6 separate regions of the Homo sapiens genome follow, and all the other regions are linked to region 3. Evidence: promoter capture Hi-C in human tissues and cell types (Jung and others, 2019). All regions are on one chromosome and are shown on one strand. The core of a region is centred on a gene start or on the middle of the fragment in contact, and the rest is flanking DNA. Distances in the headings are between cores, read along the strand shown.

The links. The method cuts DNA at HindIII sites, captures the fragments that hold promoters and counts their contacts. A contact is called where the count stands out against the background at its distance.
Region 1: a contact is called between a fragment that was not itself captured here and the fragment with the promoter of ONECUT1 in region 3, in 1 of the 25 tissues and cell types used here (thymus).
Region 2: a contact is called between a fragment that was not itself captured here and the fragment with the promoter of ONECUT1 in region 3, in 2 of the 25 tissues and cell types used here (dorsolateral prefrontal cortex and mesendoderm cells).
Region 4: a contact is called between a fragment that was not itself captured here and the fragment with the promoter of ONECUT1 in region 3, in 3 of the 25 tissues and cell types used here (H1 embryonic stem cells, dorsolateral prefrontal cortex and mesenchymal stem cells).
Region 5: a contact is called between a fragment that was not itself captured here and the fragment with the promoter of ONECUT1 in region 3, in 1 of the 25 tissues and cell types used here (H1 embryonic stem cells).
Region 6: a fragment that was not itself captured here is called in contact with the fragment with the promoter of ONECUT1 in region 3 in 2 of the 25 tissues and cell types used here (dorsolateral prefrontal cortex and lymphoblastoid cells).

Annotation. Positions count from the first base shown.
Region 1 is chr15:52,334,841-52,338,738 of GRCh38, forward strand. It overlaps MYO5A (myosin VA), which reads right to left. Exons shown (of 42, transcript NM_001382347.1): 33 at 2,970-3,044; 34 at 1,623-1,716. Among named protein-coding and RNA genes, the nearest start is that of MYO5C, 41 kb to the left of the region's middle. RefSeq lists an enhancer at 3,401-3,898. The HindIII fragment of the contact is 5,720 bases long and covers 1-3,898 here.
Region 2 is chr15:53,102,668-53,106,421 of GRCh38, forward strand. All of the region lies in intron 4 of LOC107983981 (a long non-coding RNA gene), which reads left to right. LOC105370823 (a long non-coding RNA gene) reads left to right here. Exons shown (of 4, transcript XR_932261.3): 4 at 870-1,191. Among named protein-coding and RNA genes, the nearest start is that of LINC02490, 12 kb to the right of the region's middle. The HindIII fragment of the contact is 3,019 bases long and covers 616-3,634 here.
Region 3 is chr15:52,789,078-52,792,830 of GRCh38, forward strand. ONECUT1 (one cut homeobox 1) reads right to left here and starts at 1,259. Exons shown (of 2, transcript NM_004498.4): 1 at 1-1,259. The coding sequence starts at 807. It overlaps LOC105370824 (a long non-coding RNA gene), which reads left to right and starts at 1,353. Exons shown (of 2, transcript XR_001751550.2): 1 at 1,353-3,612. RefSeq lists enhancers at 1,255-1,549, 1,546-2,314, 2,315-3,082 and a silencer at 1,297-1,366. The HindIII fragment of the contact is 12,558 bases long and covers 1-3,753 here.
Region 4 is chr15:53,130,549-53,134,101 of GRCh38, forward strand. All of the region lies in intron 4 of LOC107983981 (a long non-coding RNA gene), which reads left to right. Among named protein-coding and RNA genes, the nearest start is that of LINC02490, 16 kb to the left of the region's middle. The HindIII fragment of the contact is 3,905 bases long and covers 1-3,511 here.
Region 5 is chr15:53,258,457-53,262,178 of GRCh38, forward strand. No RefSeq gene overlaps it. Among named protein-coding and RNA genes, the nearest start is that of LINC02490, 140 kb to the left of the region's middle. The HindIII fragment of the contact is 4,957 bases long and covers 1-3,722 here.
Region 6 is chr15:53,214,615-53,218,301 of GRCh38, forward strand. All of the region lies in intron 5 of LOC107983981 (a long non-coding RNA gene), which reads left to right. Among named protein-coding and RNA genes, the nearest start is that of LINC02490, 100 kb to the left of the region's middle. The HindIII fragment of the contact is 5,942 bases long and covers 1-3,687 here.

The DNA.
Region 1 (3,898 bases), core at 611-3,110, 450 kb before region 3:
ATGTCGGCCAAATTGTGGTACACAGAGAGCAGAACCATAACGTCTGTCTGGGTAATCAGGAAAGGCTACTCTTGAGGATGTGACATATGACTCTGGTCTCAAAGGCTGAGCAGGACTTAACCAGGAGAAGCAGGATGACCAAACAGAAGGAGCAGTTATGACAAGACCTGGCATGTTGGAGGAATGAAAACCACACTTGGAGTTAATCATGATAGATTCTTTTGAACATCCTCAGTGATGGGGAATCTTCACTGTTTGAACCAAGCAAGAATTAGATGCAGAATGACAATGAGAGAAAATGATTAACCGTTCACACAGGTTTGAAGGCTATTCCAAAGACTGTCTCAAAATCCCTTAAGCAGTGAGAACATTGAAATAAGCTTAAAATTTGGCTTTAGGCTGGAAGCGGTGGCTCACGCCTATACCCAGCACTTTGGGAGGCTGAGGCAGATGGATCACGAGCTCAGGAGTTCGAGATCAGCCTGGCCAACATGGTGAAACCCCGTCTCTACTAAAAATACAAAAATTAGCTGGACATGGTGGCATGCACCTGTAATCCCAGCTACTCAGGAGGCTGAGGCAGGAGAATTGCTTGAACCCGGGAAGCAGAGGTTGCAGTGAGCCGAGATTGCACCACTGCACTCCAGCCTCAGCGACAGAGCAAGACTCTGTCTCCAAAAAAAAAAAAAAAAAAAAAAAAAGGAGTTTGGCTTTAGCCTTGTTCACTGCTAGATCCCTGTACCTATAACTCTTAACAAATAAACACATAAACACACTAATAGAAAAGATAAGATCCATTTGTATATAAATAATAACAACAACTGATATTTGGTTATTTCTCAAGGAATTTTTTCATCATCATCATATAGAAATCATGAGATGTTTTTAAAAATCTTATTTCTTTATCATCATAATTCATATTTTTCTTTTTTACTTCTCTATTTTTCCTCCATTAGACTGTAAGTTCTTTGAGGACAGACTCTATCATACTCATCTTAGTATCCCTAATACTAAGAATAATGATAGTGACTAATAACTAAGTCGCATGAAGCATTTTTACTATGCGTCAGTAACTTTTCTAAGTGTAATATACTTATTAGGTTGATGCAAAGGCATTTGCAGTTCCTGCCATTAAAAGTAATTGCCTTTGGACCAACCTAATAGCTCATTCAATCCTTATAAACCATGTCAGATAGATGCTATTATCTTTCTAATTTAACAGATGGGAAAGCACAGGCATACAGAGGTTCAGAAACTTGCCCAATATCATATGATTAATAAGTAGAAGAGCTAAGATTTGAACCCAAGAAGCTTGACTCCAGAATCCACATTCTTAACTCCTATGCTATACTGCCTAGCACATTGTCTGGCATATAGAAGATATTCATTAGATGCTTACAGAGTAAAATCTGTAAATTATTACTACCCATGAAAAGAACATTTTTCCTCATTTAAAAATGTAAATTTCTACTCAAAAGAGGTTAGGTTTGCCAAAAGTCATATTTTGTTATTATCCCTAATATTTGCATGCAAACCTCTATTAGGCCACTTATATAGCCTAGTCTTTAAGCCAAGACTCAAACCAAGACTCAGTGACCGTCTTGAAAAAAAGGTTTAAATACCTTCTAGTTCGCCAATTTTTTTGGCAAATACTTTCAGTTGTTTTTTCAGTTTACGGACCGTCTTATCCTGTTTTTCAAGTTGTTCCATCAAATCCTAAAGATCAAAAAGAGAAATATATTAGAAAAATCGAAACAGGCCTTCTAAAATGCATCAAAGGAAAATAGACACAATATCACAGAAACAACACGTTAGTTTTACATAAGAGCTCATTGGTGGAGCCACCACCTGGCTAAAATTGGCAGGCATGGGAAATGCAGCTACAATAAAAGCCATATGTTAAAATATACAACGCAGTAAACTCCTTTACAGCGTGATGGACAGCAGGCTCACTGCAGAGTCTTTCCAGTAGACTCCATGTGGGAAAATCAACTGAATGCTTTGTAGAATGTATTGGTATTCCAGTAGAATGCTTTCTTTTAAAGGAGGACTGACTAGGCAAAAATAAATTTTGATGAATGCACAAAAAGGTTTGTGGAAAGAATGGTTGAACTTAGGTAGGAACTGACACTCCCCATGTGTGAAGCACTGTCTCTATGAGAGCCACCCTATGAAATTCTAAAATTAGCCCTGAAACTTAAGAATAGTTCAGAAGTTTTGGGAATTAAAAGATAAGTTGAAAAAAATAATCACAAAGAACAGGATAAAGAGTGGTCTGCTTACCTAGGACCAAAGTGGCAAGTGGCATAAGGCATCTATAAAATCTTGCAGGTGATATAATTTTGCTTATACAGAAGAAAGGGGTATTTATGAATGCTTTATGCAAAAACAGAAACAAAAGCAGTACACTTAAGGAGGAAGGTAAAAAAAAGTCCATGATTATTGGCTATTTAATAAAGAATTTGCTCAAATGACAGACATGGTTAAAAACTCAATCAAAAAGAAAGTGGACAACAGTAGGCTCAGTAACAGCTTAGAAGGGCTATGAGTCAGCAATGTGTGTGGTCTGTTATTCAGGTTATGGAGAAGAAAGGCATTCCAAATACAAATATTCATTTTCCAGTTTAGACAGGAGTAGATTTAGCTACTAGGCCAACCATTAAAGGGAACAGTTGCTATCTCTTCAAAGTGTTAAGTTGTACTTCTTGGATTTTACGTGACCTTTCAAATCACATTTTGCTTCCATCACACTGTAAGCCTAGTGTTAATAACAAACCAAACGTGACAATGGACTCAGGACACTGACAGAGGTGACACCACTGGCTAAAAGACAGCTGTGGGGAGAAACAGGTTTCGTGAAAATTTTGAAGAGACTTCCTGGGAGGGGGCAGGCAGCAGTGTGCTCTTCAGTTACAGAGGGCTATAAGTAGCAAGGGAAGACAGCAGAAAAGCACTATGGTTTTACATACAATCATCCGTTTGTAAAGGGAAATCCGATATGATTGATACTTCTTAGGGTCATCTGCATATAATTCCTCAAAATACTGAAAAAACAGGCACAATGGATATTTGTTTTTGTCTGTGTGTTTGAGGGAAATGCTATCTTTCAGCAAAATCAATTTTAAAATATTTTAAAATACAAATAGTGAAACTATATATACTTGAAAGGCTCTGATTTGTCACCTTCCATTACCCTTTTATCTTTCTAGTATAGATTATTCTAATTACATATGTACAGATGTTTCTTGTGTGAACAAAGGAAAGAGGCTGTGGCCAGGATGCCATCACTTAGCAGGCCCAGATAAGGCTGTCATTTCCCTCCTCCAACCTCCTGCCTTTTTACTCCCAGCCTCCCCAACACATGATGCTCACAACTTGCTGCACTTTTTTTTTTTTTTTTTTGCCGCCAGCAGCAGTGGCAAGAATAGGGGAGGTAAATATAATAAAAGTGAGAATAATAGCAATGTTAGCTTGTGAAGCTGGAGAGGCTGGTGGGAAGCTGTGCATCTTCCTTCGCTGAAAGACAGCACGGGGGAGGCCTGTGAAGCCTGTTCACTAGATGAGGTAGAAAAATCATTTTTGTGTTTTGTGTTGGTGGTAGGTAGGTGGGCAAGGTAGAGTTTCAAGAGCACTAAGCCCAGGTCTCCTGCTGGGCTTTAATATCCTACTCAAGTGTTTCTTATAGAAATGCACAATTAAGATTGAGAAAACAATGATTTTGAAAAAGTCTATCATTTCCTGTACTTATGTTTGAATCCATCCTCCTGAATTAGTAGTCAGTGTGATGGCAGGAGAAGCAGCTGACCTACAAAAGGTTTTCCCCAAACTCAAATTCATTAACTGGGCTCTATTAGCTTAGAATATAGGGGCTTAGTCTATTTTTTGTATTAGCTATGAA
Region 2 (3,754 bases), core at 875-3,374, 310 kb after region 3:
TATTGGATGTTGAAATATTGGTTCTCTTCTATGACCTCTTTCTTCTTCCTGGTCACAGCATGTAGCAGGTGGCTTAATAAAGCAAGTTCTGTCTATATGACCTCCATGAAAAGTGAACAGCCCTGCTCACTGCTCACTGACCAGCTGATCTTCCACACACCCGAGTCTCTGAGATGGAGCTAAAACAACTGTATGCCTGGTTGAAATGTCTACTTCCCATTCAGATATTTAGACCTTGGTTAGACACCCACTAAATGAGGCATGTCTGTGCAAAAGCATTCCAAACTGAGCAGATGCAAAGAAATATTATCCTTTAGAACCCATTTGATCCCTTTTTTAAACCCAAGAAAACATAAATGCAACAATAGATCAATTTGACTGTAAATATTATCTAAGTATGTCCTTTAAAAGCCAAAGGAATGTCAGATACAATTTATTTTCCACCAGTGCAAGCTGAGACATTAAGTGGCAATTCTACTTCCATTAGCTAAATCTGGCAAATATGCAACTGTTTAAAGGCATTGTCGATAGCCATTCACGATTAAGTATTTGTACTGATGCCTTATTAAATTACCCTTTTCAAGTAGGCATAATAAACTAGGAGTTCACTGTGCAGATTTTCATGGGGAAAGTCAGATCACTATGGAATTTATTTAGAGAGAATTTAGTGCACTGAGTAATGAAGTAAATGTCAAATGTTTTGACCAAATAAATCTTATCTTCCTTAAAACTTTTTTTTGAGGTCAAGAGACACAGCAAAATAAAAATCCCAGTGATTATAATGGTCATAATTTATAACTTTATTGAAACAACTTTAAAACTTTGATTGTTTTTTAAATAATGAAATCTGTTTTGTTTTTAACTGACAGCATTGCCCTACACAGGGGATTTCTACTCTTCCTTTACAAAGCTGGTTTCTTCCAAACATTAAGATCTCTTACAGGGACTGAATGATAAATGGATGAATGAGGAGGATGATGAAGGGGGAAGGTGATGGAAGAATTAGGACAAGGAGGCTATGCAGGAGATTGGTAAGCAATGAGCTAAGAAGGCTTTGAGACCTATTGAGAGATTCTAAACTCCTGGATGGGCCTATCTGCATTTTGTCTGCAAAGCAATGGTAACTAGAAAATTGGGCTGGGCGTGGTGGCTCACGCGTGTAATCTCAGCACCTTGGGAGGCTGAGGGGGGTGGATCCCCTGAGGTCAGGAATTTGAGACTAGCCTGACCAACATGGTGAAACCCCGTCTGTACTAAAAATACAAAAATTAGATGGGCGTGGTGATGGGCACCTGTAATCCCAGCTACTCAAGATGCTGAGGCAGGAGAATGGCTTGAGCCCAGGAGGCGAAAATTGCAGTGAGCCGAGATCACGCCATTCCCCTCCAGCATGGGTGACAAGAGCTAAACTCCATCTTACAAAACAACAACAACAACAACAACAACAACAACAAAATAAAAATAAAAACAAACTAGAAAATTCTTTATTTAGTAATGCATTGGTCTCTCCTTCAGTCATTTGATATAGTTCTCATCATTGTAATTCTTAAGCATTAATTATGTATTTCTAGTTCTGGTACCATAATAGTTTCTAGGTACAAATTTTTCTACTCCCGTTTTCTTCCTTCCCCATCTATGTACCAAACCTAGAAATGTTTGACACTTGGTTGGCCTTTAATTGCTGCATATGCCCAATACCAAATTTTCTAGCACTGTGCTTTGTTCATGATAAGCATGTTAGTTATTGCTGCTTCAATCTAAATGAAACAAATGAATTAGCAAATTCCTTTTAACTATTACATGTTAGTATAGTTTATACCAACTATTTGGATACATGGCTGAATTTCTCTAGTTTTTATCCAAGTATTTGATGTTACATAATGATAACCTCTGTGACTTGTTTTTTTTTTTTTTTTTTTTTTTTTTTTTTTGCTAAAATTGCCAAGAGGAATACATTTGCTTTCCACTTAGCCATAATATAAAATACAACCTTGGGAATGGCTGCTTTAAAGAAACGTTTCCATAAGATACATCATACTTGACATACTTTAGGGAAGCTTCTTCAAGGAGTTGTGGTTAATATTTTTGTAATGAGAAAAAAGAATCACTTCAATGACCTTTCCTGAAAACTTTTGATTTTCATACATAATTATTTGTTGAAGGTGAAAATATGTTTCTATTTTGAGTTTTTTGAATGCTGATTATAATCTTTAGATTACAATGCTCCTGTGTATTGTATTGATGAAAGATAAACTGAGGCACATACAGATTTTTTTTTTTTTTTAGTGTCCTCCTACACAAGGTAAGAAATTAGCATAGGAATCAGGATGGCTAATGTTAAGACACCAAATAGATACTTTTATTACCTCTGGATTATATATTTATTTTAAAAATCTGTGATTCTTTTGATCCTGTAAAAGTGTGGCCAGGCTTTTACAGAATTTTCTAACTTTTCAATAAATGTTATCTTTATATATGCAAAAATACATGTTTTATTATTCCTTATTCAGAATACCTTAGAGAAGGGAGGTAGTATGTGTTAGAGGAAAGAAGTAAAACATGAAAGATATGGTTTAAGATCTACTTGAGAGAATCACTTACCCTCTCTGGCCTTGGAGGTTTGAAGTAGATAATGTGTTAAGAACAAGTAAGAGTTTCAAAATTTTTTTTTTTATTTTTTTTTATTTTGTGCGTGTGTGTGTGTGTGTGTGTGTGTGTGTGTGTGTGTGTGTGTGTATACATGTGTGTGTGTATTTTAGTCTGTTCTGAGCCCAGGGACACAGACTCAGTAGTCAGGGGCAAGTGCTGAAATGGAAATCAGGATAAACGACAGAGCAGCTGTCCTGGAAGTAACGTCAGTGGACTGTCTTTTAACAATGTGAATCCCTGGGCCCTATCAAGTCAGAATTTTCTAGGAGGGGATGGAAGTGAGGTGGGTCTGTGATTCTAATAAGTGCCTCAGGTGGTTCCAATGGTCACTGAAATTTAAGAACCAGTTCTATTAGATAAATATATTTGTTTCTCTTTCCCTGAAGATAATCGTTTAACAGCCACATTCATACATTTCTTACAGAAAACATGGGCATAATTCCTAGCTCCCTTCAGATTGCTAATGGCTAGAGGGTGCCCAGTATGGAACATGAGGCCAGGCTGGCCAGTGTGACCAGGGACACCATGGACACCTGAGACTTCTTAGCAGGATTTCTTGAAGATTATGATAAGATAACCAACAGGGTAGAGCTTGCCTAGAAGGTGGTGAGCCTGAGGCTTGGGTCTGAGAGAGGATCTTTGAAGAGACAGTGCAGTGCTCCTAGGTATTGTTTCCAACCTGCTTAACAAATTCTTTTTGTGGTTCTTGGAATGTTCAGAGCAACAGACATTGAGGTAATCAGTAATCTCTGAACTAGGTGATTGACAAAATTTAAAAAAAAAGTTACTACAGGAGGGTCCAAATCAGGGCAGCTTCCCAGTTGTTATCCTGCTAGAAACTAGCTACAAATATCAAGAAGGAGCCCCTTATGGTGTGACAGTCTGTGAGAGGCAGCTGTTGGGTAATGAGTAAGATTCTGGGGTTGGGAGCCAGATGCGCAGGGTTCACATTTCTGGCCCAGATTTACAAGCTGTGGAACCCTGAGCAATCACTTCTACTGTAAAATGCAAAGACAGGGCCTATCTTGTAGAGTCATTATGAAAATTAGAAAACTAATACATGTCGAGTGCTTAGAACAGCCCCTGGCACTGTTAGCTGTTACAG
Region 3 (3,753 bases), core at 9-2,508:
CCGGGCTGTGCCCAGGAGTTGCCCGTGGCCCTGGGCGTTCAGGTGGGCGTGGGGATGGTGCGGAGGAAGGCCGTTGATGGGCACCATGCCGGCCGAGGTGGGCGTGAGGTGCTGCTCCCCGTGGCGGCCGAGCATGGCCGGGTGGTGGGCTTCGAAGCCGTTGGGGGTGAGCATCTTGTCGGTGGGCATGGCGGCCCCCGGGTGGGCATAGTGGGGGAGCCCTTGCTGGGAGTTGTGGATGCTGCCCAGACCGGAGCTGGAGAGGGGCGAGAGGCTCTGGCCCATGCCGGCCACGTCCTTGTGGTAGGGGGTATAGAGGTTATTCATGGAGGCCAGCCCGCGCTCATCCCGCATGAGCGTGAAGCTACCGCTCACGTTGCCCGCCAGGCGCTGGTGGTGGTGCGGGTGGTGGTGGTGATGGTGGTGGTGGTGATGGTGGGGGAACTTGTCCGAGACTGTGGAGATGGGAGGCAGCGGCTGCAGAGGGGTCAAGGTGGTGTAGGTGGTGGGCATGCTCATACCTGGGGGAGTCTCGCAGGCCATGGTCATGGTGGGATGCAGGGGGCCGGCCAGGCTGTGCTCAGGGGCCCGGTGGTGGTGGTGGTAATCTCCGCCGCCGCTGCCGCCGTCCAGCAGGGACGCCATGCCCATGGAGCGCGGGTGCGCGGGGGGCAGGTGGCTGCCGCGGTGCGCCACGGAGCTGCGCGCGTGGGGGCTGCCGCCCAGCAGGTCGGCAGGGGCGGGCACCGGCTCATGGCTCACCCCGTGCAGCTCGCCGATCGCTTCCATGGTCAGCTGCGCGTTCATCGTGATCCGGGCGAGCAGGCGGCGGACACAACATCGATGTGGCCAGGCAGAGGCGGCGAGGGGCGCACGGAGTCCGGTCTTCACATCGGCTGCTGGCGACTGTTGCCTTCCTTCCTCTCACTGTGGGGCTCTGTCTCTCTCTCTCTCTCTCTCCGTGTGTGTGTGTCCGTGTGTGCGTGTGCGTGTGTGTGTGTGTGTGTGTCTCGCCTTCCCTCTTACCCCCCACCTTCCCCTCTGCGTCCTCGGCTTTTTTTTTTTTAATATTAATTTCCAAAGAGGATCCGCGCCGTTGGGAGAGCGCAGTGCCCCAGCCCGCCCGCCTCGGCCACCTCTCGCCCCTCTCTTTCTTAAAATTCTGAGGTCTCCGGCTCCCCTGCCGCGGCCCGCGCGCCTGCCGCGTCTGCTGCCTGCCCGCCCCGCTGGCCAGCTTGAGCCATGGCTCTGTTACTGTTACAGACTCTGTGGCCGCGGTTCGGTAGCCGCCGCCGCCGCCGCCGCAGCGGCCCGCCCTCACGCCCGCCAGGCGCAGCGCGCATGCGCGAGGCCCGCCCCCGCCCCCTAGGTCGCGGCGCGCCAGGCCCTTGGCGTCCCGGTACAAATGAAGGAGGGGGCCCAGCGCCTTCCCTGCGGCGCTGGATGGCCAGGGAGCTGCGGGCACGTGCGAAAGATTGGCGCAGAGCGCGACCTGGGGCCGCCGCTGCAATCCCAGGAGACTCGCGCCTGGCTCGCTCGCCTCCCTTGCTTGAGTGGGCTCTGTCCTCCCAGCCCGGGGACGCTCGTGTCGGGCTTCTAGCGGCTGGAGTGCTGTGCTTGGAGACATCGCCCCTCTCTCTCCAGTTGCTGCTTCCCGGTGCAGCTTGCCCGGGGAGCTGGGGACTGTGTCATCACCCCTTCGGCTCTAGCCCACTAAGCTTTATTTCCCGGGGGGCTGCTGGGAGTGCGCTTTCCCACCCTTGAATTCACGGCCTATTGGGGGATGGGGGTTGGGGTGGGGTGGGGTGCAGATTGCTTAAAGGGCTGGGTCCGTTTGGCGGCCGTTGACCCGGCACCCTTCGTCCTCCCAGATACATACTTGCCCACCCTTTCTCATCCATGCCCTGGGGAGAGGAGTAATCAGTGCCAAGAATCCCAGTTCGGGCCATACCTCACTGTCCCCCGCCGCCTGGCTCCTTCTCCCGCTCAGCTCATAATTAAGGCTGTGCGTCCGCTTCGCCGATGACTCGGCCTGTGGAGGGGGGCGAGGGAGAGCGGAGGGAGTGCCCTGGAGGGTACCCATGTTAACTTCCGGGTGCTGGTGGGGCCGTGGAGGCTCGGGCCGTCCCTGCGGTTACTCCCAAGGCCCTCCTGCTAAAGCACCCGGAGGCGGTTGCTTTCCAGAAGTACTGACGCAGACAGGGTGGACGCCGGCGCGCGGGTCTCCGCTTGGCCCCTAGGGACGCCCTTTTCCCGGCGTCCCCGAGAGACGCCTCCAGATTTGAAAATCAATTCAGCTTCGGGAGTAATTTCGCCCTTCCCACAGTCACGCTCCAATCTGGAATCGAACCTGGTCTTTGGGCCTGGTGGGGACGTGTGCGGAGGCCCCCAGTTTGAGACGTACACCCGGCCGCCACATGCCGCGGCTTTCTTTCATTTACAAAAGAAAGAAAAAAAATCCGCAACAAAAGGCAGAGCCGTGTCCGCTTAGGTGCTTTCATCCCTCAGAGAAAGGACAGATGTGCCCATTGTCCAGCCCGTGGCAGTTATGGCCGGGTCAGCGCCGAGCCTCAGCCCCAGGCAAGCGGTGGTTACAATGAGAATAGCCTCTCAGAGCCGGGGTATCTGGACTCAGATATGGAATAAAGTGTGTGTAGCCTGTGCTGGGCCAGACTCAGACTGTAGGTTTGCTTGCTGGGGCACCGAACTGCAGCCCACCCGTGGTGTTTCCACTGCAAATGCTCCCAAGCCCTTAGAGAGGCCAAGGCTGTGGTAGTGGTGGTAGTTGGGTTTCCAAGGCAAAAGTTTGGGCTGGCCAACCCTTTGGGAAAAGTTCCCACCGGCCCAGGCATGAGTAGGCCTATCTCTTTGCCCAGGTCCCTGCTACCACCAGGGCAACATCCTAATCCAGGTAGGTCAAGTTCAGTGGATACAGTCAACGTGACTTCCTTGAAGGCGGCCATGTCCTGGGACTGGTTAATCTAGCTGGTTTTATCACCAGAGGCACTCCCATCCTGTCCAAACAATGCATATGGAGGCCCTGCAAATAATTCATCTCAATGGATTTCATGTCTACTTTCATAATGAACAGTTAGGAATTTAGGAACCCCCAGAGAAGAAAAGATATTTTAGGGAAAATACACTGATGTAAAGGAACTCAGAAAACACGATTAACTCTTTAAACTTGTATCTATATCTACCTATTCATACACGCATACACACAAGCACAAAACATATATTTCCTGCCTAGTATATTACAGTACCTTGGTGGAAAGCTGCATCTTTGGTTTTTAATTGTTTCCATTCTCATTTCCTACAGCATGAGACCAAACAATGGGTTAAAGTAGCAGGGAGTCTTTCAGCTAAACAGTTGTCCCCCCGCCCCCGCCCCAATATTTTAATCCCGCTGAAGTGATTGATTTGCCCTTATGACAACTATCTTCCCAAAAGGCAGTTTGTTAAAAGAAAGAAAGAAGTAAATACCACCAAGTGCACAAATTGTTCATGGTTTTCTCTTTGTGTAGCTAATTAGGAACTTGATCTTGGAAACCCTCCTTCATGAGAGGCACTCAGCTGAGCCTCTGGAGTCCACCTGAATAAGGCTGGCATCAGGTGAGCTCAACTTCCCCTCTCCCCCAAGGGCATTTATGAAAAGGGGGGCTGGCTCTGTGTTGGTCCCTAAAGAAGGAGCCAACGAAAAGACCTGGAGAAGCACCATATGTGTTGGCTTGCTCAGTAATTTTTGATTTTTTT
Region 4 (3,553 bases), core at 309-2,808, 340 kb after region 3:
AGCAATTAGGGAGCTCTAAGCAAGCTGTGTAACTATATGACAAACGGGTGCGTGGTTTAGAATAATAATGTGTATTGAGCACTTACTATGTGTGAGGCATTGGTCTACCTTACATGTAGTCACTCACTTAGTTGTCATCACAACCCCATGAGATGGATACTATGATTGTTTGTTCCACCTTTCATGATGGAGAAAGTAAGGCAGAATGGTTAAGTAACTTGTCTTAGGTGGCCCAGCAGAGAAGTGGCCTGGCTCTGGAGTCTGAGCTCTTAATTTCTGTATACCTATAGCACCTTCTACATCAGCTTTCTAGGAGCAATGTGTATTGGTAAGTGGATACAAGTCCTTGAGAAGTACCAGTCTAGTCCTTGTTTTGGTTAAATTGGCTAATTGACTAATAACAGTAGAGGCCTTCTCTAGCATGGGATACCCAAAGCTTCAATCAGGTAGGACCACTAGGCATGGTAGCTGCTGTCAGGATCAGTATAGCCACCTGAGTGCCACCTCCACCTCCCTCCCAACTTCTTCCCCACTCTTCTGGCTCTGCCAGGAAACTATGGTGCAACACTGTCAGGCTGCATGGGAGGAGGAGAGCACAGACTAGGAACCCCATGGGGTTGTCCTTGAATTAGTCCTTCTTCCTGACTTTCAGGATTCAGCCATGAATACTGCCCCCTGAGGGAGCAGGAACCAGCACATTGTCCTGTACTCCAAGTGGGGTTCATACCCCCTTCCTTTTGTCTTCAGGAATTCTATAGCGATTCTTCCCGATTAAATACATGCCGGTCAATTAGGAGCTTATGGGCTCAAATCCATGAGGCCTGATGATTGACTCTCCTTGGTCCATCTTTCTCAGCAGGAACAGACAAATCATCAGGAATTTGAACATGTGTCTTTTAAACCCACCTTCCTTTGCTGCTTGCTATGCATGATGAAATTTCACATGAGAAATCATGAGATCCTCGCAAGATGCTCTTTGTTTGCCAATGAATTTTGATTTGGTTTTAGAAAAGTGGAAAGTGCAAATAGAATTAGGCTTGAAAATTATTCAAGAATCATTTTAATGCTCCCAGGAGATTGGTCTGCTAACTCACATAGATTTCTGCTCTCTGTCAGAATTTAGCCACTTCAAGGAAGCTTTTGTTTAGAAAGAGGTAAAATCTTTTAGAGAGAGATCACTTGTGAATTATTTGACAATTGCTCGTATTTGCTTAATGTTCTAGAGAGACATAACAGGGTATTTGAGATTTTACATTTTATATAATGTGACTTCTGAAAATGTATTTTGGTTTCCTTTTTGAAAGATTTTTGCCTTTATAAAAATGATAATGAATTATAATAGCTCTAATTATTAGCCACATTCTCTGTTAGACACTTTATACAATCTCTGTTATTCTTCCCAGCAATCTTTGCAATGTAGAGATTATAATTTTATTTTATTTATGATAAAACTTTATGTGTCCTCTCAGAGAGATTAAGTAACTTGCAGAGGATCATAGAGCTGATTGTCAGTTAAGCTGGAATTCAAATCCTAGTCATTGTAACTCTAACCCCACAGCATCTTAGACCTGTTGGCCCCTCAGAAGGAAGGGTGGGCCTAGAACTTCAGTGCTACCCCTTCTCTGACATCACTAGTTACTAAATCTGCAATCAGCCTCAGCCTGTGCTTGGTCAACTGTAGCTAGGAGCAGCCAGGAATCTTAAAGGGCCTCTAGAGAGAATTCCCAAATAGGTTCCTTTCCCTCTGAATTAGTAGATAGGCAGGTCTTTGGCTCATTTGGAGGGTAGGTTAGCAGGGCATAATGGTTAAGTGCTCAGGTCCTGGAGTTAGTCAGACTTGGTTCAACTCTCAGCTTTATCAATCTGGGCAAGTTTCTTATTCTCTTACTATATAGTTTATGAGAGTTAGACAGAGGATTGCAGGTAAAGCATGTAGCTAATGCCTGGCGTGTGGTGGGCTCAATAATGTCATTTATTATTATTGTTCTATGTTGCTGTAGAGGGAGAAAAAGCTCAGACTGTAGGTTTATTCATACTGTTTCCTTGTTTCTTCTATGCACTAAAGTCCCTTAAATAGTTAACCATTGGAAAACTGTGTATTTTAGAAGAAGAAGAAGGTAGATTTTAGCTTAAAAGCATTCATTTCAGACTATATTGCTAACTAATGGCAGAATCAAGAATGAAGACACAGGACTTCAGACTCCATTTCCATGATTCTCTTTACCACACAAAGGCAGGAACCTTCCAGGTGTCTGGCAATACCACCAGTATAATGATAAGAAACATTTATGTTGCACCTATGGTGCTGATCACTTTACACACCTGACCTGACCTAATCCTCATCACAGCCTATGAAGTAGATAGCTCCATGCAGATGAGGAAACTGAGCCTTGGAGAAATTAAACAGCCTCAGGTCCCAAGATACATGAATGTAATCCAGGATCCAAACTGTCTGTCTTTGATACTGAGACTTTACAGTGCAGTACCTGCTGGTGTAATTCCTTCTGGAATCAATAAGCCTATAGATCTGAGTAAGAAACCACCACTGATGTGATCATTGAGACACCACTTAGAGTGAAGCCAGTCCCTTTCTCTCAAAGTGGAGCACATGAAGCTCTGGAGGGAACTGGTCTGTGGGCTGGGGCTCAAGGAATTGCATGGAAATAGGGGGAAACCTATGCTTTTTATATGAAAGCAAATGGATATTGTGGAATAAGATGCTAAATTTACATGAATATTAAAGAATAAACAGGAGGCTTTGACTACATTTTGAGCTTTTAAATTTTGTTTCTGAACCTCCAGAGACTCAAGCTTACTGGCTATTGGTGTCAGGAACACTCCCATGAAAGAGTTTTGGAAATCCTGACTCAGCCAGTCCACAAAGTTCACTTCTTGCTTTGGCAAATGAACACACACAAAAAATCACTGAGCTACGATTGCTTTTTGCAACTCGTTGCAGCAAGAAGCTGTTGGCCATTGATTAGCAATGGGCACATTTTTCACCAAAGGCTTTGCCCTCCCTTTGCTTCGCTAATCCTGTTTGCAAGCATTTCCCCACAGAGATCGCTACTTCCTCATAATGAATAAGCTCGCACTTGTGAGTTCAAACTGGCAAATTGCCACCAGACATTTATTAGCTCTGGATTAATGGATCAAGACTCAAACTTTCTAGTTAAAAGAACAAGACAAGCCCTTAGGATTCAAGACTCTTTAAAAAAATCCTCATTCACTTGGCATTACCATTTCTTGCAGTCCTTCCTCTCCCTTGTAGGGTTCGATTTGTCAGTAAAGCAGTGGAAAGGACTTATTTTTCAGCCATTTTGGATCAGAGAAAATTGTTGATCTTAGTTGTTCATGTTTTCCTGGGACTTTTAAATGGGACTGGTGTTCTGGCAGAAATTACTGGAATATGCTAGGTGGAAGGAGACTAACATTGCCATGACATCATGGGCTCAAAGGGGCAGGTAGAGGCAAGGTTGGGAGGGTGATCCTCCTGGAGAAGAAAAAGACTCAAGGGGCTGTGTGAATTGTCCAAAGACTGCTGGCAGGCTGA
Region 5 (3,722 bases), core at 912-3,411, 470 kb after region 3:
CAGTAAAGAGTGCCCAGGGAAAACCAGACATTGCCTGTAGATAATCATGTGCATCTCCCAGTGGAGACCACCATACAGCAGAGGCCCCCAGCCTCAAATGGAAACAACCTGAGCAGAGCTGGGATGAGACTGCAGCAAGGGAGGGCCCAGGGTACAACATTCCAGGAGAGGCTCACTCCCAGGACTGGACAAGTGCTTGCACTTGTGCCCCCTTGGTCCTGGCCCTGGGAACCAGAGATTTCTGCCTCTCCCACTCTTCTGCCTGCTCCAGCACAGGGTTGGAGCCTCAGGGAGGAAGATTGGGCCTTGATAGACAACCCATTTCTCTCCTCCATCTTCTTGGAGCCACAGTTCTGGTATATGTAGATTTGAGCTTTAAATTGGATCTGAGCGTGAACTTTCTTGGACTATATATTAATAACAGAAAGGGTCTGAATAATAGTAGAATTGGACTAAGACATGATCAAAGGATTCACAGGAGTCACTATCAAATAAAAAATTTGAGAGGATTGATATTACATGGCTGAAAAGTTGACATTACAAAAAGCAAGTTTATATAAAAAGTTATTAAGGCTCTTCAAGAAAGTGGTTGCATATGACAGTGCTTCTGAAGAGGCAGGAAGAAGAAGGCATAGTAGAAAAGAGGTCAAGGAGGGAGACTTTCTGTTTTCCTCTCCTTAAAGTTAGTGGTCCTGTGGAGAAATTGAATATTCAACAGGCCTAGGTTTCTATCCTGGCTTCATTTACCTATAGCTGTGGAATTTGGATGAAGTGCTCAAGCCTTTGCTTCATAACTTGGAAGTAGCGCTAAGAATCCCTATTCCCACTCTATAGTACCGTTGTGAGCATAAAATGACATAGGATACATAATGCACTTGGCATTATGCTTAGCACCTAGAAGATGGACAACGCATGTTAGCTCTTTCCCTTGTCCTGGCCCCTATTTCAATGAAGAATGGAACTTTTCAGAGTACACATATGAGTGTTGTATGTGTTGGGTGTGTGTACTGGAGAGAAAACTGTCTGAGAGGTAATTCTGGAAAATATGGGACTGGGTGAGGAGGAACTCTAAATTTACGAAGAACACAACATGCTTCCAGTCTGTGTAGGAAAATAATCTGTTTCAAGAAACGTTTGAGCTGAGTGCTTAGGTTTAAGTGTCACTGAAACTATGAAAGCCCTGTGAAGCCTTACAAAAGTCATGTTGGGCACATAAAAGACATGCTACTTTCTTCAGTGGGTAGCAAATCTATGGACCTTAAGAATGGTATATGTGTGAAACTAATAAATAGCTTTCAAGATATATGGGCATAACCACAGAGGTTAGAATTGGAGCTGCTTTTTTTTTTTTTCAAGCTCGTTCTTAAGGAAATTTGTGATACATAGAGTAGAAATAATATCTTAGGAAGTTGACATCATGGAGGTCAACCTCATTTTCCTACCAGGTAGCTGTCAGGGAGATTGTCAAATCCTGGGCCCAGTGTCCCAAGGGAATTGTCCTTTATGATATTTTTGAAAATGTTCATGTGTATAACAAAATTCTAGATTTTCTCTGTGCTTTCCCGATTTCTGGAGGAAAACATTTCCTGCACTGAAACAGTTGCTTTTTGCCCAATCATTTTGTTTACATGAATAAAGAAATTAATTTATCTTGAGGTTTAGATTTGGAATTATCCCATATTTACCTCTGTCAACATTTTCATGGGAGGGAAGAGTAGTTACTATATTGGTCTTTCTTGGAAATCGAACACTCTTCTCATTATCATAATACTGGTATTTATGCTCTGGTATCAATGGATTTTTTTTTGCAGTAGAAATTTCCTTTTAAAGGTCTTTGTTCAGACATTTAAAATCCAGCCATAAATATTTCTCTGAAACTGGGCAGGGGAGGTTTAAATTATAGTCCTTTGAAAAAAAAAGAGAAGTAAAAAATTCCCCCCATCATATTGGAACACCGAAATGAGAGCACATTAGAAATGTATTTTAGGAAAAAAATAAAATATTCATATCAAATAAGGTTTTTGGTCATTTTTCAAAGTAAAGAAATGTGAGATACACATATTACCTCAGACCTAGTTGCAAAATGCATCAAATGTACTATTTATTAAATGTACTATTTCATATTTCATGAAATTAATAATTTTATGTTTTAATCTATCCAGTATTTCCTGGTTTACCAACACTTTACTTACATCATAATGAGTGAAGATAGGTATATTTTATGTAGGTATGTATGTGCAGTGAATTCACATCAAACTCAAAATCGGAAAAACAGGGGATCTAATAAATGCATGAGTGATATCAAAAGCACTCTCTGTACTATTTCTTTCCTAGATATGATTGGCAGTAGGACCTCTTGACTTAGTACATAAACACAGGTTATGGGGAAGAAAAGTGCTGGCATTTTACACAGTTTATCTTCCATTACTGTATTTAATTTTTGAAAGGACATTGGAATCCTTTGGGAATTCTATCACAGCCTGAAATTCTGCTACCAATTACACATTTTATTTCTAGTTGATTTAGTGATAAAATTTAATATGCCTTAAAATAATATTGGAAACTTGCAAGGAGAAGCACCCCTTCATAAATAGAAGAGATATATCCCTGAAAGAGTACGTTTACATCTTTAACTCTTTACAAACACCATTATTATGGTAACTAGATTATATTTGCTATCCTAGAATGTACTAGCAATGTAATTCCAGAGGACAGGGTTGGAGAGACTCTCCTAGGATTGAAGGGTTTGTGCCTGGGTGAGAGGTCATGATGGCTGGAGTAGGAGAAGCAGACTGGTATAGGTGGTAGCTGGGGAGAGAGGACTCTTCTAATGTGTACCTCAGTCTAAAAAGCTTGGAGCCAGTGGGGTTTTCCATGGTCCTACTCAGTAAAGATCTTCCTCCAATCATACATTCATACACACCTTGTGCTTCCAATGTTGGGTACCCCTAGATAAAGAGTAACATGGAAAGGAATGTTTGCAAACATTCATCCATCTACTTGGCTCAGTGAGGTTAAGGACGAAAATACTTCATGTGCAAGTGGACGTTTTTCCAACTGCCAATGAAAACTTCATTCCAGAGCAGACCAAAACACATCAGGGTTCATAACATGGATTTCTCAGCGTTTTTCACTGACTTCTTGGAAATTTTCTCCCTAGTAACCCCAAATGTGTTTCTTTTAACTTCTGTAAGGTTGAACTGAAAACTTTCTTGCACTCTCTTCAAACTCCAAACTCTTTTTCAAATAAATGCCAACACTAACGATCAGTTGTCAAAAGCAAATGGGCATAAACATGTAGATTCCATGATGGGGTTTAGGCATCATACTTTTAAAGGACAACAGGCCTTCTGTAGATGCTGTGTCTTATTTAGGCACCGGCATCTTGACTCTGGCTTTGTTCTTCTAGTTTTTAGTTTGATAAAAATTTACCAGAAAATAAACTATTCAAACATCTGACTAGGTCAACTAGAAAGTATAGCGGATGAACTGTAGAAGACAACACTCAAGAATTTATGACATTTCAGCCTTATTGTAACTTTCCAATTGTTTTAAACACAGTCAATGACTGAAGGCAGGCAGGTTAGTATGCTCAGTTGCTCGTGGTATAATAATTAGAGATGAGGCAGCCACTCTACTGGCCTATAGGAAGACTGTTTCCTACATCTCTTCGATATAATTATCTCACATTTCATAGACTGTAGTCTTTTCATCAGTGCAAG
Region 6 (3,687 bases), core at 846-3,345, 430 kb after region 3:
ACACATTTAGTTGTCATATCTATTTAGTCTCCTTTAATCTAGGAATAATTTCTCAGCCTTTTAAATTTTTTTTGACATTTTTAAATAGCCAAGGCTAATTTCCTTATAGAGTGTCTCACAAAAACCAAGCTGGTATCAGAGAGCTCTCCTTCCCATTCCTGTTCCTTTACTATATTTTTACTTATTTCTGTAGGTACAATTTTATATTTTATGATTTATTTCTCCCTGTGTATCTATAAGAGTAGATAGATAGGTAATTGATAGATATAGATATTTCCATAGTTTGTCTTTTTATATATAGAAAGTTATAGTATACTATACATGCACTCTTCTGTGCTTTGCTTTTTTAACAAATAATATATTCATATCAATTTATAGAGATCATTCTCATCCTTTTGGATGGTTATATAATATGCTATTGTGTAGATGCACCATGGTTTATTCAACCAAAATCTAGTGAGAGGTTTACAGGTTAATTCCAATATTTTGAAGTTACCATAATGCTGTAATAAATAACTTTATGCATATGTTGTTATAGAAGTAGATTTTTAGGGTGAACTATCAATTTTTGAGGCATATTGATAATGCTTTCATCAAGATGCCATTTGTGTATTTCATGATATTTTTATATACTCCAGATACTGTTGGTAACCAGTCTACCTAAATGCCAGAAGTAATAATCAGTCACTAACATGTCAGGCAATATGCTAAGATCATTATAATATCTCTGCTAAAATATTATGGGTGTGTTATTTTATTAGGCCACACAAGCACAAGTAAAGGGCATACCATGCCCTCTTCTTCTTTCAGTTTTTCTATTCGTTTGATATTTGTCAAAAAGTGGGGAGACATGCCTTTTATATGCTTATAAACAAGTGATGGCTACTATTTAAGAATAACACACAACCCAAATAAACTCAAACATTAGGATCTTATGAAAGAGAAATCCAAGTAGGTTGACTCGGTGAAGAAATTTAATATCAAATCTTCCACTGAGAATTTCTCTAAAGCTCTGTAGAGACGCTTTGTATTTTCTGCAGTTTTATGGGAAGCCAGGAAGCTAGAAACACTTTATAAAGTCACCTTGCCCTCTTTGTAAAGCTATCCTACTTTGTAAGTGGTTGGTTTAGGTTGGTTTAAAAACACCAGAAGCAACAAATTCAACATGAATTTCATTTATTTTTGAAAAATTGAGTTTGGCTTTGGAAAATTTTGCTGGCGCTCTGTATATGTCTGTTTTGTAGTGACCCTAAAGAGAGCAGATAAACTGATGACAAGAAGGAATGCAGGCCACCGAGCCTCCTCTGATTCTAACCCTATTTCTCATCTTGCCCTTTCTCACTGCTAGTCTTCTGCATCATTCACTCTCCAGGATTCTGCCTGCTCTTGCCCTGTGGAGGATCTGGGAGTGGAGATATTAGAGGCTCTGGGCAGTAAGTTGGAAGACAGTGCTGCCCACACACACAGCAGGCTCTGGGTGTGGGCTCCACTCCTGTCTTGGCAGTTTCTCAAACTTCTGTAACTTACCCTGTCCACTCTCCTCCTGCTATTCTATAGGATTCCGTCTAGGAACAAAAGCTTACTTACTATCTCATATTCTTCTAAATTTCTTATCTATGCTCACATGAATTCTTATTGTTCCCTTAGGGCTTGGCTTTTGAATCTCAAATACCAAAAACAATCTTCCTTACGCTATGTCATCCTTCCCTCAAGGCAATGCATGCAGACTGTGTGATTGATGGGAAGAATGATAAAGAAGAATCATATCCGAAAATATTAGACATCTCTTCTTGCTCCAAGGCCCTGACTCCTTGTCCCATTATCCTCATCTTCTTCCCTTCCAAACTCAGTTAAAAAAAATCATCTGCCAAAGGAGAATCAAAAGTGATCTCACTTTCAAACTTATTATTTACTAGAGGACTATAAAACAACAGGAGCTTTATGTAAGTGTTTTTTAAGCCTCTTACGTCCATCATCCATCTCTTCTCCTTGGTCATTCCTCATCTCAAAGCCCAAAGCCTGGTCTTTGGAGACAAATAGAGGTGGAACTAAATCCTGGCTTTGCAAGAGAAATAAGATTTCATGCTCAGTTTCAACATCTGTAAAATGGGGATAAAAATACCTATCTGAGAAATTTCTGATTAAGACTCAATAAGATATATTTACAGTGTATAGAACAGCATAGGTGGTCAGTACATTCTCACCTCTGCCTCCTTCCCTCCTTTTGTTCTCTCTCCAAACACATATCTATTGCTTAAATATGATCATTAATAATAATAAGAGAAACAACAATAAAGTCAAAGATAACAAGTCACAATCCCTTAACCATCTTGATGTTTTCATTCCCTAAGTTTCATTTACATCCAGTTCTGAAGGATCTCTATAGTCTTTAGTGAAAAGATAAGCTTTTTGAATAACGTTTCAGATTAAAGCAATCTAAAAACCAAAAAAAATACTCTTTCAGCTTCTGTGAAAGAATATTCACTGTTTTCATTTTTAAATCTTGAGATCAAGGATTTGAGGTAGGGGCTATTAAGGTAAAGATGAGAGGGAAGCAGAGAGAGAAAAAGAGGGATGAAGATAAGATGGGATGGTGTGGATAAAAGAAAGAGAGTTGTAAGCATAAAAGCATGAGGGTTATGGCTTGTCTTGCAAAATAGAACAGATGAAGTATCCTCTCCAAGACAATTTTCTTCTTTTCTTACCCTCTGTGCTAAGATAAATTTTCTTTTCGGATCATGATTATGGATTAATTTATGACTTCCCTTAATTGTCTGAGCAACGCAGGGTTAATGTCCTGGTAAGGACAAGTTCTCTTTTACTTTATGAGAGCAATCACTTAACGAAAATTAGGCTATTACTTTTTATCTCCTTCTCCTTGGCAATGCCTGATAGCATGGGACACTTCTGCAAATTTTCCTCCTCTTGCCTGTGTTAGGGAATAGATCTTTATTTGGCTTTGACACTTTGAAGATTTCCTGATAGTTGATAACAAGATTGAACTCCAGAAATGTCATCTGGTAAATCACATTGAAGCAGTATATCTTCCCAGGGCTGTGAAGGTTCTGTTTTTGAGTGAATGTTGGTTCTAGGAGAAGCTACCACTAGAAGGGAATTTAGAACTAGTAGATACCCAAGGGTTATGGTGCCTTCTGCCATTTCCGAAAACATCGAACTAGTGCTGGGTGGAACATAGTGCTGTTGAAAAGTTTAGTTTGGAGCCATATATGTGCCTGGAATTGGTTCCTGGATCTCCAAGTGCCAGCTGTGTGGGTTAGAGCTTACTCTACTTACCCTTAGCTTCAGTTTCCTCATACATAAGATGGGAATAAATATACTTGCTACTTTGTTGGATTCTATCATAAGTGATTGATTAATTTACAGACAGTTACTGGATTCTACTCTGTATCAGATACTATATTAGTTTTTCAGGGCATAGCTTAGGTTGAGATTGCCAGAAGTAGACCCTGAGACAAGGATTTGTGTGAGAGTGATTTGTAAAGGAATGCCTCCAGGAGAAACCTGTAACAGAACAGTGGAAACAGCAAGGGAGAAGAAGACAAGCAAGGGTGCCATTTCAGGCAAAGACCCATAGAGGGTGGCTTGAAGCTGATCTTGAAGGGGATCGCTGGAAAATAAGTTATGCTGCAGTATTTGTTCCCACCTATGGAAAAGGGATCTGGACTT